4 separate regions of the Homo sapiens genome follow, and all the other regions are linked to region 4. The links are contacts of gene promoters, found by promoter capture Hi-C in blood cells and fetal thymus (Javierre and others, 2016). All regions are on one chromosome and are shown on one strand. The core of a region is centred on a gene start or on the middle of the fragment in contact, and the rest is flanking DNA. Distances in the headings are between cores, read along the strand shown.

Evidence for each region. The method cuts DNA at HindIII sites, captures the fragments that hold promoters and counts their contacts. A CHiCAGO score of 5 or more calls a contact.
Region 1: a fragment that was not itself captured here is called in contact with the fragment with the promoter of ACRBP in region 4 in 10 of 17 cell types (activated CD4 T cells, naive CD4 T cells, naive B cells and 7 more); the score reaches 11.5 in activated CD4 T cells.
Region 2: a contact is called between a fragment that was not itself captured here and the fragment with the promoter of ACRBP in region 4, in 3 of 17 cell types (non-activated CD4 T cells, total CD4 T cells and activated CD4 T cells). The highest score is 8.0, in non-activated CD4 T cells.
Region 3: a fragment that was not itself captured here is called in contact with the fragment with the promoter of ACRBP in region 4 in 3 of 17 cell types (non-activated CD4 T cells, activated CD4 T cells and naive CD8 T cells); the score reaches 6.4 in non-activated CD4 T cells.

What each region holds. Positions count from the first base shown.
Region 1 is chr12:6,738,827-6,741,731 of GRCh38, forward strand. No RefSeq gene overlaps it. Among named protein-coding and RNA genes, the nearest start is that of MLF2, 13 kb to the right of the region's middle. The HindIII fragment of the contact is 1,764 bases long and covers 713-2,476 here.
Region 2 is chr12:6,519,072-6,521,976 of GRCh38, forward strand. It overlaps NCAPD2 (non-SMC condensin I complex subunit D2), which reads left to right. Exons shown (of 32, transcript NM_014865.4): 14 at 1,915-2,039; 15 at 2,727-2,905. Among named protein-coding and RNA genes, the nearest start is that of GAPDH-DT, 14 kb to the right of the region's middle. The HindIII fragment of the contact is 7,418 bases long and covers 1-2,905 here.
Region 3 is chr12:6,716,140-6,718,920 of GRCh38, forward strand. No RefSeq gene overlaps it. Among named protein-coding and RNA genes, the nearest start is that of COPS7A, 6.5 kb to the right of the region's middle. The HindIII fragment of the contact is 9,962 bases long and covers 1-2,781 here.
Region 4 is chr12:6,645,852-6,648,907 of GRCh38, forward strand. ACRBP (acrosin binding protein) reads right to left here and starts at 1,581. Exons shown (of 10, transcript NM_032489.3): 1 at 1,473-1,581; 2 at 943-1,161; 3 at 632-726. The coding sequence starts at 1,515. RefSeq lists enhancers at 1,002-1,515, 1,439-1,508. The HindIII fragment of the contact is 16,958 bases long and covers 1-3,056 here.

The sequences.
Region 1 (2,905 bases), core at 345-2,844, 93 kb after region 4:
TGGCTCACGGCTGTAATCCCAGCACTTTGGGAGGCGGAGGCGGGCAGATCACGAGGTCAGGAGATCGAGACCATCCTGGCTAACACGGTGAAACCCCGTCTCTACTAAAAATACAAAAAAAAAAAAAAAAAAAAAAATTAGCCGGGCGTGGTGGCGGGCGCCTGTAGTCCCAGCTACTTGGGAGGCTGAGGCAGGAGAATGGCGTGAACGCGGCAGGCGGAGCTTGCAGTGAGCCAAGATCGCGCCACTGCACTCCAGCCTGGGCGACAGGAGCGAGACTCTGTCTCAAAAAAAAAAAAAAAAAAAAAATTCGCTGGGCATGGTGGTGGGCGCCTGTAGTCCCAGCTAATCGGCAGGCTGAGGCAGGAGAATCACTTGAGCCCGGGAGGCGGAGGTTGCAGTGAGCCTAAGTTTGCAGAGAGCCGAGATCGCGCCTCTGCACTCCAGCCTGGGCGACAGAGCAAGACTCCGTTTCAAAAACAAAAAACAAAACAAAAAGCCGGGCGCGGTGGTTCAAGCCTGTAATCCCAGCACTTTGGGAGGTCGAGGCGGGCGGATCACGAGGTCAGGAGATCAAGACCATCCTGGCTAACACGGTGAAAACGCGTCTCTACTAAAAATACAAAAAAATAGCCGGGCGTGGTGGCGGGCTCCTGTAGTTCCAGCTACTCGGGAGGCTGAGGCAGGAGAATGGCGTGAACTCAGGAGGCGAAGCTTCCAGAGAGCCGAGATCACACCACTGCACTCCAGCCTGGGCGACAGAGCGAGACTCCGACTCAAAAAATGAAGAAAAAGAAAAGAAAATGATACAGAGATTTACTGGGTGAAAAAAATCTGTACATAAATTAAAATGGAATACTAAATAACATTCAAGTAAACCAATACAAGGCTGGAAAATGGAGACAGAGAAATTACAAACAGAACAAACAAAATAAATAATAAATAATAGAAATATTGCCGGGCGCGGTGGCTCACACCTGTAATCTCAGCACTTTGGGAAGCCGAGGCAGGTGGATCACGAGATCGAGACCGTCCTGGCTAACATGGTGAAACCCCATCTCTACTAAAAATACAAAAAAATTAGCCGGGCGTGGTGGCGGGCACCTGTAGTCCCAGTCACTTGGGAGGCTGAGGCAGGAGAATGGCATGAACCCGGGAGGCGGAGCTTGCAGTGGGCCGAGACCGTGCCACTGCACTGAAGCCTGGGCAACAGAGTGAGACTCTGTCTCAAAAAAAAAAAAAGAAAGAAAGAAACAAAGAAAAAAAAAGAGATAAATGCAAACATACTAATTATATTAATTTTTTATTTTTATTTATTTATTTTTTTGAGATGGAGTCTCACTCTTGTCGCCCAGGCTGGAGCGCAGTGGCGCGATCTCAGCTTGCTACAACCTCTGCCTCCCAGGTTCAAGCTATTCTCCTGCCTCAGCCTCCCGAGTAGCTGGGATTACAGGCATATGCACCAAGCCCAGCTGATTTTTGTATTTTTAGTAGAGACAGGGTTTCACCATGTTGGCCAGGACAGTCTCGAACTCCTGACCTCAGGCAATCCTCCCGCCTTGGCCTCCCAAAGTGCTGGGATTACAGGTGTGAGTCACCACACCTGGGCAATTATATTAAATTTAAATGGCCTAACTACAATTAAAAGACGGATAGGCTGGTGGTATACATCTGTAGTTCCAGCTACTTGGGAGGCTGAGTTGGGAGGATTGCTTGAGCCTGAGAAGTTAAGGCTGCAGTGAGCTGTAACTGTGCCACTGCACTGCAGCCTGGGTAACAGAGTGAGACCCTGTCTCAAAAAAAAAAAAAAAAGAAAAAAAAAAAAGACTCACTTCTTAACTCCAGCACTTTGGGAGGCTGAGGCGTGAGGATCACTTGAGCCCATGATTTTGACACTAGCCTGTGCAACACAGTGAATAGAGACCCCATCTCTATTTTAAAAAAATATCAAAATAATTTTTTTCTTTTTTTTGAGACAGAGTCTCACTCTGTTGCCAGGCTGGAGTGCAGTAGTGCGATCTCGGCTCACTGCAACCTCCGCCTCCCCGGTTCGCGCCATTCTCCTGCCTCAGCCTCCCGAGTAGCTGGGACTACAGGCGCCCATCACCACGCCTTCCTAATTTTTTTTGTATTTTTAGTGGAGATGGGGTTTCACTGTGTTAACCAGGATGGTCTCGATCTCCTGACCTCGTGATCTGCCTACCCCGGCCTCACAAAATGCTGGGATTACAGGCGTAACCACCGCGCCCGGCCAAAATAATTTTTTTAAAAGACCCAGAAATACAGTGTCTTAAAAAAGAAAACAAATACTTTTAAGTATGACATAGGTCGGTTAAAAGTAAAAAGATGGAGAAACACGTACCATGAACACTAACCAAAAGAAAGTTGAAAATGGCTGTAGTAACAGTTAACTAAACTTCAGAGCAAAGAAAATTACCAGAGATAAAGAGGGACATTGGCTGGGCTTGGTGGCTTAAGCTTGTAATCCCAGCACTTTAGGAGGCCGAGGTGGGCAGATCACGAAGTCAGGAGTTCCAGACCAGCCTGGCCAACATGGTGTAACCCCCATCAATACTAAAAATACAAAAAAATTAGCCAGGCGTGTAATCCCAGCTACTTAGAAGGCTGAGGCAGGAGGATCACTTGAACCTGGGAGGCAGAGGTTGCAGTGAGCCGAGATCATGCCACTGCACTCCAGCCTGGGTGACAGAGCGAGACTCTGTCTCAAAAAAAACAAAACAAAACAAAAAAGACATTACATAATAAGATATTTGGTTTTCCAAGTAGATACAATAATTCTAAATGTCTATGCATTTAACTAAAGCGCTTTAAAATGCACAAAGCAGGCCGGCCACTGTGGCTCACGCCTGTAATCCCAGCACTTTGGGAGGCCCAGGTGGGCAGA
Region 2 (2,905 bases), core at 167-2,666, 130 kb before region 4:
AGTAGAGACGGGGTTTCACCGTGTTAGCCAGGATGGTCTCAATCTCCTGACCTCGTGATCCGCCTGCCTCGGCCTCCCAAAGTGCTGGGATTACAGGCTTGAGCCACCGTGCCCGGCTTGGGCTGTTTTTAGAAGGCTAGAGAGTGGCTTGTTTGCCCTATGACTCCCTTATGTTACTTTAGTGTCTCTCTTTTTATTTTGCTAAAGCAAAAATAGAGACTATAGTTTTATAAGTGCATGTTCCACCAAGCATTCTAGTATTTTCTCCTGTCAATTAGAAAAGGATTGTTTGTTTTTGAGACAGAATCTCACTGTTGCCCAGGCTGGAGTACAGTAGCGCAATCACAGCTCACTGCAGCCTCTCACTGTAGCCTCAACCCTGCTGGGCTCAAGCGATCTCCCACATTAGCCTCCTGAGTAGCCTGGTTAATTTATTTATAATTTGTAGCTGGGATTACAGGTACACACCACCAGGCCTGGCCTTTGCCAGCCTGGGCAACGTGGCAAGAAGATAACATGTAGACAAGCAGTCAAACATGTATTCTTTTTTTCCCCCTTTTATATGACTGATAGAATTCTCTGCCCACTGATCTACCATCTTGTTTTTTTCACTTAACTATGTGTCTCAGTGGTTTTTAAAAATATTTATGGCTGGGTGCAATGGCTCATGCCTGTAATCCCAGCTACTTGGGAGGCTGAGGCAGGAGAATTGCTTGAACCCAGGAAGCAGAGGTTGCAGTGAGCTGAGATTGCTCCGCTACACTCTACCCTGGGTGACAGAGGAAGAGTCCATCTCAAAAAAAAAAAAAAATTTATAGATGGCCAGGTGCAGTGGCTCACACCTGTAATCCCAGCACCTTGGGAGCCCAAAGCTGGTGGATCTCTTGAGGCCAGGAGTTTGAGGCCAGCCTGGCCAACGTGGCGAAATGGCGAAACCCATCTCTGCTAAAATTACAAAAATTGGCCAGGTATGGTGGCACGTACCTGTAATCCTAGCTATTTGGGGAGCTGAGGCATGAGAATCACTCAAACCTAGGAAGCAGAGGTTATAGTGAGCCAAGATCATGCCACTACACTTCAGCCTGGGTGACAGAACAAGACTCTGTCTCTAAAAAAAAAAATATATATATATATATACACATATATATTTATACATAAATAGTTTCCCACTCTCCTCTTTTTTTGAGAGAGAGAGTGTCTCACTCTTTTGCCCATGCTGGAGTACAGTGGTATGATCACAACTCACTGCAGCTTTGATCTCCCAGGCTCAAGTGATCCTCCCACCTCAGCTCCCTCGAGTAGCTGAGACCACAGGCACACACCATTACACCCACAGGCACACACCATCACACCCACAGGCACACACCATCACACCCACAGGCATACACCATCACACCCACAGGCACACACCATCACACCCGGCTAACTTTTTTTACTTTTTGTATAGTTGGGTCTCCCTGTGTTGCCCAGACTGATCTCAAATTCCTGGGCTCACGTGTCCCCATTATTTTTTATGACTACATAGAATCTTATTGTCTGGATGTGCCTGAATTAACTAATTATTGAAAGTTTATTGTTTCTAAACTTAGGAAAGTTTTTAAACAGGTGTTTGGAGTAGGTTTATGATTTTAAAACTTTAAAAAGCCTTATTGGAGTTTTTTTGAAGACTGTAGTAATGCCTTGTAGGTTCAGAAATAGGAAAAGTGTTTGCAGATGAGCAGTCAGGGGAAAAAAATAGGCAAAGTGTTTTGAGCCCTACCCCTTAGTAGGTGCTGTAACAACTTTTTAAGCATGTTAAGTGCTCCTTTTCTCTGGGCAGTAGGTCCAGGGACTTGATAGAATCATGAGGTAAGCTCCCTTACAAACGGCTGCAGTGACATTCTTCTGGGTACTGACAGGCTGGTGTTCTTTCAGAAAGGCCATCATTCTCACTCGAGAAGCCACAGGCCACTTCCAGGAGTCCGAACCCTTCAGTCATATAGACCCAGAGGAGTCAGAGGAGACCAGGCTCTTGAATATCTTAGGACTTATCTTCAAAGGTAATCATTTTCCTTCTTCAGTCAATAAATAACACATGTCAACTGGTATTTACTGAGCATTAACTTTATGCCATCATTGGCCTGGTTAACAGAACCTGGTGCTGAAGAGCCCAGAGATGAATTGGCATTACTTTTGCTCTGGAATGGAAGCAGCCCACGGGCCTAAGATTGATAGTCACAGGGTGACTGTCCAGACCATAGCGGTCTTTAGGTATGGTTTTTGAGAAATTTAGATATTTTAGAGTAAGTTTTAATTTCATATCTTCACATTGTGAAAAGAGATATCCAGGGCCAGATGTCGTGGCTTATGCCTGTAATCCTAACACTTTGGGAGGCCAAGGCAGGAGGATTGCTTGAGCCCAGGAGTTGAAAATCAGCCTGAGCAACATGACGAAACCCCCATCTCTACAAGGGATACCAAAAAAAAATTAGCCAGGTGCGGTGGCACGCACCTGTAGTCCCAACTGCTCAGGAGCTGAAGTGAGAGAATCACCTTAGCCCGGGGAAGTTGAGGCTGCAGTGAGCGGTGATCATTGCCACTGCACAGCCTAGGCAACAGAGTGAGACCCCATCTCAAAAGAAAAGAAGAAGGAAAATAAATAAGTAAATATCCAGGAATGTTGACAGCTGTTGGATTCCCCTGTATCCCCTTGAACGAAACCATCCTGTACTTCTCTAACTCCTTAGGCCCAGCAGCTTCCACACAAGAAAAGAATCCCCGGGAGTCTACAGGAAACATGGTCACAGGACAGACTGTCTGTAAAAATAAACCCAATATGTCGGATCCTGAGGAATCCAGGGGAAATGATGAACTAGTGAAGCAGGAGATGCTGGTACAGTATCTGCAGGATGCCTACAGCTTCTCC
Region 3 (2,781 bases), core at 52-2,551, 70 kb after region 4:
AGCCCTGCCAGCCCCGGGCAATGGGGGACTTAGCACCCGGGCCAGTGGCTGCGGAGGGTGTACTGAGTCCCCCAGCAGTGCTAGCCCACCGGCGCTGCGCTCGATTTCTCGCCGGGCCTTAGCTGCCTTCCCGCGGGGCAGGGCTCGGGACCTGCAGCCCGCCATGCCTGAGCCTCCCACCCCCTCCATGGGCTCCTGTGCAGCCCGAGCCTCCCCGACGAGCGCCGCCCCCTGTCCACGGCGCCCAGTCCCATCGACCACCCAAGGGCTGAGGAATGCGAGCGCACAGCGCGGGACTGGCAGGCAGCTCCACCTGCAGTCTCGGTGCGGGATCCACTAGGTGAAGCCAGCTGGGCTCCTGAGTCTGGTGGGGACGTGGAGAGTCTTTATATCTAGCTCAGGGATTGTAAATACACCAATCAGCACCCTGTGTTTAGCTCAAGGTTTGTGAATGCACCAATCGACACTCTGTATCTAGCTGCTCTGGTGAGGACGTGAAGAACTTTTATGTCTAGCTCAGGGATTGTAAATACACCAATCGGCACTCTATCTAGCTCAAGGTTTGTAAACACACCAATCAGCACCCTGTGTTTAACTCAAGGTTTGTGAATGCACCAATCAACACTCTGTATCTAGCTGCTCTGGTGGGGCCTTGGAGAACCTGTGTGTGGAAACTCTGTATCTAACTAATCTGATGGGGACGTGGAGAACCTTTGTATCTAGCTCAGGGATTGTAAACGCACCAATCAGCGCCCTGACAAAACAGGCCACTCGGCTCTACCAATCAGCAGGATGTGGGTGGGGCCAGATAAGAGAATAAAAGCAGGCTGCCCCAGCCAGCATTAGTAACCTGCTCTAGTCTCCTTACACGGTGGGGAATCTTTGTTTTTTTACTTTTTGCGATAAATCTTGCTATTGCTCACTTTTTGAGTCCATGGTGCTTTTATGAGCTGGAATACTCTCCGGGAAGATCTGCAGCTTCGTTCCTGAGCCAGCGAGACCATGAACCCACCAGAAGGAAAAAACTCCAAAGGCATCTGAACATCAGAAGGGACAGACTCCAGAGACACCACCTTAAGAGCTATAACACTCACCACGAGGGTCTGCTACTTTACTCTTGAAGTCAGTGAGACCAAGAACCCACCAATTCTGGACACACCACCACACCTGGCTAATTTTTTTTTTTTTCTTTGAGACGGAGTTTTGCTCTTGTTGCCTAGGCTGGATTGCAATGGTGTGATCTCAGTTCACTGCAGCCTTGTCTTTCTGGGTTCAAGGAATTCTTCCTCAGTCTCCCAAGTAGCTGGATTACAGGTGTGTGCCACCATGCCAGGCTAAGTTTTTGTATTTTTAGTAGAGACAGGGTTTTGCCATGTTGGCCAGCCTGGTCTGGAACCCCTGACCTCAGGTGATCCACCCGTCTTGGCCTCCCAAAGTGTTGGGATTATAGGTGTGAGCCACCACGCCCAGCCATTTTTACGTTTTTAGTGGAGATAGGGGGGTTTCATAATATTGGTTAGGCTGGTCTCAAACTCTTGACCTCGTGATCAGGAGTGATCATGCACCACCATGCCTGGCTAATTTTATATTTTTAGTAGAGATGGAGTTTCAACATGCTGGTCAGGCTGGTCTCGAACTCCTGATGGGTGATCCCCCTGCCTTGGCCTCCCAAAGTGCTGGGATTACAAGTGTGAGCCACTGTGCTGGGCAATTTTCCTTTCATTCTTTTTCTTTCCTTTTTTTTTTTTTTTTTTTTTTTTTTTGAGACAGGGTCTTGCTGTGTTGCCCAGGCTGATCTTGAATTGCTAGCTTGAGTGGTCCTCCCACCTCAGCCTCCTGATTAGATGGGACTAAAATTTCCCTTTACATTATTGCCCTTTGCTGATTTTGTTATCAAGGTGATTCTGGCCCCATAGAATAAGTTAAGGGGTGCTCTCTCTTCCTATTTTCTGCAATAGTGTGTATAAAATTAATATGATCTGTACTTTGAAAGTTTGGTGCTACTTGCCTTGATGATGTCATTTTTTTAAAATAAAAAATGTTTTGGCAGGCCTCAGTGGTTCACGCCTCTAATCCCAGCACTTTGGAAGGCAGAGGCAGGTGGATCACCTGTCAGGAGTTCCAGACCAGCCTGACCAACATGTTGAAACCCTGTCTCTACTAAAAATACAAAATTAGCCAGGCATGGTGGTACATGCCTGTAATCCCAGCTAGGGAGGCTGAGGCAGGAGACTCACTTGAACCTGGGAGGCAGAGGTTGCAGTGAGCCGAGATCGTGCCCTTTTACTCCAGCCTGGCCAATAAGGGTGAAACTCCATCTCAAAAAAAAAAAAAAAAATTTCTGGCCAGGCATGGTGGCTCACACCTATAATCCCAGCACTTTGGGAGGCCGAGGTGGGTGGATCACCTGAGGTCAGGAGTTTGAGACTAGCCTGACCAACACAGCAAAACCCCGTCTCTACTAAAAATACAAAAATTAGCTGGGGGTGATGGTGGGTGCCTGTAATCCCAGCTACTGGGGGGGCTGAGGCAGGAGGATTGCTTCAACCTGGGAGGCGGAGGTTGCAGTGAGCCGAGATCGTGCCACTGCACTCCAGCCCGGGCAACAGAGTGAGACTCCGTCTCAAAAAAAAAAAAAAAAAAAAATTTCCAGCCAGGCTTGGTGGCTCACGCCTGTAATCCCAGCACTTTGGGAGGCCGAGGTGGGTGGATCACAGGGTCAGGAGTTCGAGACCAGCCTGGCCAATATGGTAAAACCACGTCTCTACTAAAAATACAAAA
Region 4 (3,056 bases), core at 331-2,830:
GAGTTTCACCGTGTTAGCCAGGATGGTCTCGATCTCCTGACCTCATGATCTGCCTGCCTCGGCCTCCCAAAGTGCTGGGATTACAGGCGTGAGCCACCGCACTCGTCCCTGTTGTTGTTTTTTTTTGAGACACAGTCTTGCTCTGCCACTCAGGATAGGGTGCAGTGGCATGATCTCGGCTTACTGCAACCTTTGCCTCCCGGGTTCAAGCAATTCTCCTGCCTCAGCCTCCCGAGTAGCTGGGATTACAGGCGCCCATCACCAAGCCCGGCTATTTTTTTTTTTTTTTTTTGTATTTTTAGTAGAAACGGGGTTTCACCATGTTGGCCAGGCTGGTCTCGAACTCCTGACTTCAGGTGATCTGCCCATCTCGGGCTCCCAAAGTGCTGAGATTACAGGCATGAGCCACCATGCCCAGTCTCTTCTCTACTTTTCTTGCAGTAACAGAATTGTTCAATCTGAATATCCAAGGTGAGACTGTATTCATATATAATCTGGGTAAATGACTGGCAAAATGGCAGGGAAGGAGGAGCTAAGGATGACTCTCCTGGAACCCTTCCTCAACTCCCCACTGCTGCCGCCTCTCCCTTGGCCCTGGGGCACCAAATCCAACCTTTGTCCTGGGCCTCACCTTGGCATAGTAGACGTGGTTGGAGCAACGGTAGTGAGTGAACTGGCAGAAAGACTCAAACCAGGAGGCATAAGGGAGGTTGGAGCAGACAGCACCTGAGAAAGGGCAGGGGTGGAGAAGATGAACCCGTGGGGAGCTTGGGGTGGGGCTGTGGGCAATGGACTCCACGCCATGGGGAGGGTGGAGAGTACGAGCTCATGGTGTGGTGCCAGCCATGCCCTTCCCCGCCTCACATGAGCACAGGGGTTTTTGCCCTGAGGTTTGGGTGAACACTCTGGGTGCCTCGGTTTCCCCCCTAGTCTGGCCCTCACCATCGGGCACTAAGCCGTGGTTTTCATATTGGTCCAGCTGGACGAGTGTGGGATTCCGGCAGCCGTGGGTTGCACGGAGACGGCAGGTAGTCTCTGCCTTCCAGGTTGGAGTCAGCAGTGCGAAGAAGCGTTCGTATTCGGTAGGAGAGAGAGGGCTGCCTGGAGTGGAGGCCTGAGTCGAATCCTGGGCTGCGGCAGGTGCCAGAGGCAGGAGCAGCACTGCGGAGCGGGCGAACGGATGATGGAAGGACCGAACCCCAAAACCCGCTCCGAGACCAGGACAGACAGACCCAGACTGGCAAATTAGGAACGGGGTGAGGGTTATCCCTGCTGACCAGGGCGGGGGGAGTCTAGAGACAGAGGCAAAGGTCCGGCCGCGGGCGGGGGGAGATGGGAGTATCCCAGGACCTAGGGAGCCGACCCAGCGCGACCACCATGAGGAAGCGATCCAGAAACCGTAAAAGCAGAGCTCTCGGGAGGGAGAGGACTAGCCCGGGGAGAGTCTGTTGGAGCAGGTGTAAACCTCTCACCCTTCAGGAGTGAGGGAAGGAAGCCAGCGGCTGGCTTCCTCATGGCCGGAGAAGATCCGCCCGCGTCCCGTGGACACAAGCCGCCTCTAACGGGCCAAGCCGCAGAGAGAGCCGCAGGCGCGGGGCGGGGCGCACGCGGGCACCGCCCACGCGTCACAAAGAGCGGGCCGGGGCGGGGCCTCGACAGCCGGGCTCTCAGGGCCCTAAAGTGGCCAGAGCCCATCCAGATGGTAGGAATGGCAAACAGCTACCTTCACTTAGCGTCTTTTTCTTTTTTTTTTGAGACGGAGTCCTACTCTGTCGCCCAGGCTGGAGTGCAGTGGTGCGATCTCGGCTCACTACAACCTCGGCGTCCCAGGTTCAAGTGATTCTCCTGCCTCAGCCTCCCGAGTAGCTGGGACTATAGGTGCACGCCACCACGCCCAGCTAATTTTTGTATTTTTAGTAGAGATGGTATTTCACCATGCTGGCCAGATGGTCTCGATCTCTTGACCTTGTGATCCGCCCACCTCGGCCTCCCAAAGTGCTGGGATTACAGGCGTGAGCCACCATGCCCGGCCTAATTTTTGTATTTTTAGTAGAGACTGGGTTTCACCATGTTGGCCAGGCTGGTCTTGAACTCCTGACTTCAAATGATCTGCCCACCTCGGCCTCCCAAAGTGCTGGGATTACAGGTGTGAGCCACCGTAGCCAGCCACTTAGCATCTTTACATGCACTACCTTACGTAATTGCCATAGGAATCCCATAAGGTAGATACACTATCATTCGTTTTACAGATGAGAAATCGGGGCTTAGGGAAGCAACTCGCCCAACAAACAGGTCGTGAGGTCTAGAGCTAAGCGCAGGCAGAGATAGAATGTGCAAAACCAAGTCAAGGCCTATCTGGGTAGGAACTAGACAGGGCGCCTCCATGAGCAAAATGGGTCCAAGGGGAAAACAAGAGGGTGGCTCAGTGGTCTACGAAAGTGGTTTCCAAGGGAGAATCGAGTAAGACAGTCCACTGAGGTATGGGAGGAGAACTTTTGCTTTTGTATCTGTTTTGTGTTTAAAATGAGAAATTCCAGCCTGGGCAACAGGGCGAAACCTCGTCTCTACAAAAAGTACAAAAAATTAGCCAAGCGTGGTGGCACGTGCCTGTAGTCCCAGTTTCTTGGGGGGCTGAGATGGGAGGATCGCTTGAGCCCATGAGGCCAAGGCTGCAGTGAGGTGCAATCGGGCCACTGCTCTCCAGCCTGGGTGACAAAGTGAGACCCTGTCCCCACCCAAAAGCAAAAGTAAAAAAGAAAAATAAAACAAGAAATTGTCTTGGGCCAGACTTGGTGGCTCACGCCTGTAATCCCAGCATTTGGGAAGTCAAGGCGGGTGGATTCCTTGAGCCCAGGAGTTCCAGACCAGCCTGGGCAACATGGCGAAACCCTGTCTCTACAAAAAATACAAAAATTGTCAGGTGTGGTGGTGTGCGCCTGTTGTCCCACTTACTACTTGGGGAGGCTGAGGTAGGAGGATCACCTGAGTCTTCAGAGGTCAAGGCTGCAGTGAGCTGAGATCTCACCACTGTGCTCCAGCCTGGGTGACAAAGTGAG